2 separate regions of the Homo sapiens genome follow, and region 1 is linked to region 2. Evidence: promoter capture Hi-C in 16 types of primary human blood cells and fetal thymus (Javierre and others, 2016). All regions are on one chromosome and are shown on one strand. Each heading gives the region's core, a stretch centred on a gene start or on the middle of the fragment in contact. The rest is flanking DNA. Distances are from core to core; before and after follow the strand shown. Region 1 has its middle 5.8 kb from the start of SOWAHA. Region 2 holds the start of IL4 (interleukin 4).

The links. The method cuts DNA at HindIII sites, captures the fragments that hold promoters and counts their contacts. A CHiCAGO score of 5 or more calls a contact.
Region 1: a contact is called between a fragment that was not itself captured here and the fragment with the promoter of IL4 in region 2, in 1 of 17 cell types (endothelial precursors). The highest score is 5.2, in endothelial precursors.

The regions. Positions count from the first base shown.
Region 1 is chr5:132,817,721-132,820,420 of GRCh38, reverse strand. No RefSeq gene overlaps it. Among named protein-coding and RNA genes, the nearest start is that of SOWAHA, 5.8 kb to the right of the region's middle. RefSeq lists a silencer at 54-133. The HindIII fragment of the contact is 2,985 bases long and covers 1-2,700 here.
Region 2 is chr5:132,672,688-132,675,387 of GRCh38, reverse strand. It overlaps IL4 (interleukin 4), which reads right to left and starts at 1,399. Exons shown (of 4, transcript NM_000589.4): 1 at 1,203-1,399; 2 at 882-929. The coding sequence starts at 1,337. The HindIII fragment of the contact is 7,466 bases long and covers 676-2,700 here.

The DNA of each region.
Region 1 (2,700 bases), core at 1-2,500, 150 kb before region 2:
CAGAGGGCAAGAATGAGCTCACCACATTTGTTCCGTTATCAGCACCTCAGACTTCAAGACTTTGTGGGGACCAGAAGCCCGGTGAACTGACCCTTCAGGATACTGCCAGCAGAGGGCGCTGTCCTAATGGTGAAAGCTGGTACCTACGCTTCGCCATTCGCAGCTTCTCCAGCTTACCAGGCCCTCTGGGCCAGCCACAGGGACTTTGACTTGCCCTGCTGAGCAGTTAGGCCCGAAAGCTGGAGCTGAGCCTTTTGCTTCTTTCAGAAAGAAACTGACCAGCCAGGCAGGGAAAGGCTGGCTGTCTTTGCCACTGGGCCTTTGTTGGAAAGTTGCTGGCCAATGAGAAGTGGGAGAGAGGGCAGTCGGGGGGAGGGGTGTGGGGGGATTTAAACGGTACACTGATTAAATCATATCCTCCTAATACGGATTCGATCAGTGCACTTTTTGATTTCGAACATAAGTATCAAAAAAACAAAAAAAAAAAAACAAAAAAGCCTTGCGTAGTCTCCCAGGGTGAGAAAGCGGGTTGCATGGGTCCCTATAGGGGTTTCTGCGCCCCCATCTCCTTTAGCCGCCGGCACCCCTGCCCCATCCTCCTTCCTGGCTGCCTGCCGCGGTGCTTTCGGGCTTTTGGGGGAGCACAGGCCGCGGCTGGCATCGTTGCTGGGCAACAGGCAGCCCCGCGGCCGCCTCCCCAGCTCGCTTATTCCGCCCCCGCTGCTCCTCCTAACATGGATTTAATCAGTGTACTTTTTACCTTCAGGCTGTAAATTAGAAACGGAACAGGGAAGCCATGTTCGGCGGTGCCCGAAACCGGCGCGCAGTCTGTCTTGAACATCCTGCTCGGCACAAAACTTACCCCTGAGAGCGGCTGGCGCAAACCTCAGGGCTCCTCATTGGAACAAATTGCCGTGCTGTGCATTCACATGTAAACCAGGAGCTCAGGAAATTTAGGTCAAATGTGTTTGAGGGCTGCAGAGAGAAACAGGTGAAAGGGGCATTTGGGGGCGCAGGAAGGCGGGAGGCGGCAATTGCTGAGGACCCCATAGTGTTGCTGTCAGCCTAGCTACAGCGTGGAAGGTCACAATGGACGTTTACCTGTTGTCTTTGATGTTTAAATCAGCACCCACTTCCCACGAGGAGGATTTTTTTTTCTTTGAGGAGAGAATCTAGATCTCGATGTCTCTGCTTTCTTTTTTCTTCCCTGCAGGCACACCTGAGGCACCCCGGCCCCAGGTTGAAGTCTGGAGGTGTGGCAGTTCCAAACAGGTGAGGCGGGTTCAAGGCAAAAGGCTATCTGGAGAGCAAAAGAGAATCTAAGTATAGGCCAGGCGCCTATAAATACAGGCTGACTGTCGCCTGTAATCACAGCAGTTTGGGGGGCCGAGGCGGGCTAATTGCCTGAGCTCAGGAGTTCTGAGCTCAGGAGTTCGAGACCAGCCTGGCCAACATGGTGAAACCCCCGTCTCTAACAAAAGATTAGCCAGGCGTGGTGGTGCACGCCTGTAATCCCAGCTGCTCGAGAAGCTGAGGCACGGAAATCGTTTCAAGCGAGAATCGCTTGAACCAGGGAGGCGGAGGTTGCAGTGAGCCGACATCCCACCATTGCACTCCAGCTCAGGTGGCTGAATAGCAGTGGTTAGGTCTGGAAGGTAGGAGTAGGAATGCTAGAGGAATGTGAGTTTAGAAAGACATTATTTCTATTTTAACTAAAGTGATATCATGTACAGAATATGGGATAATTTCCCTCTTGTGGGAATACATTTTTCCTAGTAGAGTCGATTGTTACTTATGTATACAATCACCAACATGTTAAAAGAATGGTGATCATGGCAGGGCACGGTGGCTCACACCTGTAATCGCAGCACTTTGGGAGGCCAAAGCAGGCAGATCACCTAAGATCAGGAGTTTGAGACCAGCCTGACCAACATGGTGAAACCCCATCTCTACTAAAAATTCAAAAAATTAGCCAGGCATGGTGGCACGTGCCCGTGATCTCAGCTACTTGGGAGGCTGAGGCAGGAGAATCGCTTGAAGCCGGGAGGCAGAGGTTGCAGTGAACTGAGATTGCACTACTGCACTCCAGCCTGGGTGACAGAGCGAGACTCCATCTCAAAAAAGAAAAAAAAAAAAAGAAAGAATGATCATGTAAAGCAGATCCACAAATCAGAGCTATTTGGTTTTGGGATGCAGCCATTTACCCCCTGGAACCAACTCGGCACCCCACATTGGTGTTGCAGTTCATAAAGAGCTCTATCCACTCATTCTACGTGCTCTTCCTTCCCCCACAGCCTGTGAAATAGGTACAGGAAGCCTTTTGTCCCGTAGACAGGGAAGATGGAGTTTGGGGAGCTGGGTGACTTGCCCAAAGACACTAAATGAGTAAAAAGGGCTGAGATGAGCCCACCCTGCTTCCTGCAATAGGATAGCAGACAGTGTCATGAAAAAGAGAACCAGGAGACTATTCCAGCTCTGCATTTACTAGCTGTGAGGCCTAGACAAGTAACTTATGACTTCTCTAGGCTTCAGTTTCCTCACTTTAAAATCAAGATACAAATAGTACATACCTTATAAACTTGCGATTAATACCTGCAAAGTGTTTCGAATTGTGCCTGGCACTTAATCAGCACAGGTTATACAGTATATGCATTACCCTGGATCTCCATTAGGTAAGGGAGACATGCTTAAGAATAACCT
Region 2 (2,700 bases), core at 150-2,649:
CTTCACTCCTGGCCATATCATCTCCCTAGTTTGCATGGAAAGCAGGTAGTTAGGAGACCACTGTGAAATTGAGGCTTTGGGGCTTTCATTCTCAGCCGTGTGTTTCCATGAAAACAGGAACTGAAATGCACAAAACTATTGATACGGCTGTAGTCATGTGTTTGTCAGAGAAAATGCACTATCAGCTGTCAAATCTATCTCCTCCCACTACAGATAGAGGGGTGGGGGTGAGGCAGCACAGGAGGCAGAGAGGCGAGGTGCCCAGGCAGCCCGAAGCAGGGATGTGCTGGACGCTGCCCAGCAGGATGGTTCCAGACCGAGCTGGAGGGGAGTTCGGCCGGCCAGAGCAAGCTGAGGAGCTCTGGACGGCCAGCCCCGGAACCCAGAGGGCTGTTAGGTGGCCAGGCTGTGGAAGAGGAGGGGCTCTGGCGATACCTTTTCTGTTGCCATAGGAAGTCTCTTAGACAAAATGAAAGCTCCCTCAACCTGTCATCTCAATATCTGTTTCTGTGAGAGTATTTGGTTTTTCAGAAATGTATGGGCCAGAAAAATTCTCTCATTCAACAGGCATTTATTGAGTGCCTCCTACGTTCCAGGCACTATGCCAAAGCTAAGTAAAACCCAAGAGGGCTTTTCTTTGACCAGGATCTGAGTCAGGACTACAGCATGTAAGCTTTCTATTACATGTCTTCTAAATCAAGTGAAACCAGAAAGACCAAAACATGCTTAAGAGTAAAGATCAGACTTCTCGTTCTTTGAAAACATCTAACACCTTAGAGTTAATTTGGGCCCGCTCGTTTTCCATTAGACAAGTTTCTTGTTCAGACATTTGGGGATGGATCTCCCCATTTGCTAAAACAGACCGTGGGACGGCTTCTTACCTTGGAGGCAGCAAAGATGTCTGTTACGGTCAACTCGGTGCACAGAGTCTTGGTCCAGGCAGAAATGAGAGAGCAAGAGACAGAGTTAACCTCCAACCGGACAGAGAAGTCCTTGATGAGCAGCTCTCACTCCCTCCAACTGAGGAAACTTCCTACAAACCCTCAGAAAAAAGAGTGGCAGGGGAGAAGCCTCGCTGTGTGCCCTGGACTGCCACCAACCACCAGTTCCAACTTCTCTAGCAGCTGTTAACGTTTTCATGCCTAGAAATACTGAGAGCATCACCAGAACATCTGGAGAGATGGTGCCAGATAGGTACTCACCTTCTGCTCTGTGAGGCTGTTCAAAGTTTTGATGATCTCCTGTAAGGTGATATCGCACTTGTGTCCGTGGACAAAGTTGCCGGCACATGCTAGCAGGAAGAACAGAGGGGGAAGCAGTTGGGAGGTGAGACCCATTAATAGGTGTCGATTTGCAGTGACAATGTGAGGCAATTAGTTTATCAGGAGAAGCTAACGATGCAATGCTGACAAAGATATCTCTATATATAGATTTAAAATTGCTGAAACCGAGGGAAAATGAGTTTACATTGGAAATTTTCGTTACACCAGATTGTCAGTCACTTGGGGCCAATCAGCACCTCTCTTCCAGGAGAAAAAATGCCTCACAAACAGGTAAAATGTTCCTGTGAAATCAGACCAATAGGAAAATGAAACCTTTTTAAAAAATTAACTACAAAGTTTCAGCATAGGAAATTACACCATAATTTGCTCTTTAGATTAATCTTATCAGCTTGGGGCTGCTGCTGGCTTTTTGCTTTGCATAGAAGGGAGAGGCCACAGGTGTCCGAATTTGTTGTAATGCAGTCCTCCTGGGGAAAGATAGAGTAATATCAAGAAAGTTTTACTTGAAAAGTATTTTAACCTGGCTTCTTCCAAGTACAGGTGGCATCTTGGAAACTGTCCTGTCATGGAAAAGCTGATCTGGGGCTCCTTCTCTGCATAGAGGCAGAATAACAGGCAGACTCTCCTACCCCAGCACTGGGGGACAATGTTCTCCCAAGTTTAGGTGTTTTGAGAAGGACAGGTCGTATCAGGTGAGGCCTAGTTTGGGTCCCAGCAGGTCCATAAGGTCCTTACCCATAAGGAAGCCCTTGGCAAGGTAGGTCTATTCTGAGGTTTCAGGAATGACTTTTTTTTTTTTTTTTCTGAGACAGGGTCTCACTCTGTCACCCAGGCTGAAATGCAATGTTGTGATCAGGGATCACTGCAGCCTCAACCTCCCAGGCTCAAGTGATCCTCCCACCTCAGCCCCCCTAGCAGTAGGTGCGTGCCACCGCACCATGCCTGGCTCATTTTTATTTTTATTTTTTGATAGAGATAAGAGTCTCACTATGTTGCCTAGGCTCATCTCAAATTCCTGGGCTCAAGTGATCCTCCTACCTCAGTCTCCCAAAGCTCTGAGATTACAGGTGTGAGCCACCATGCCTGGCCAGGAATGCCCACTTTTTGAATGGAACCTAAACACATCCTCAGCTAATTAGGAAAAAGAGCTACAGTCTTACCAACTTACAAATCAGCCCTCCTAGTCAGTGCCCCACCACCCGCCCTGCTTGTTTTTTATTGAATTCATGTGGACACAATAAGGTGCTCATTGCCTCACCCCAGCAGTGAACGTAAGGACCCCACCACTCACTCAGGTGCCTGGGCCCTGTGCAAGGCCACCCCACCTCCCAGTAAGGGCTCATGGGCAGCAGGATTCTTGGGCCCTGCCTGCCCCCTGCTTTTCTCCCAGAACCTTCCCTTCCCTTGGTCTCTGACC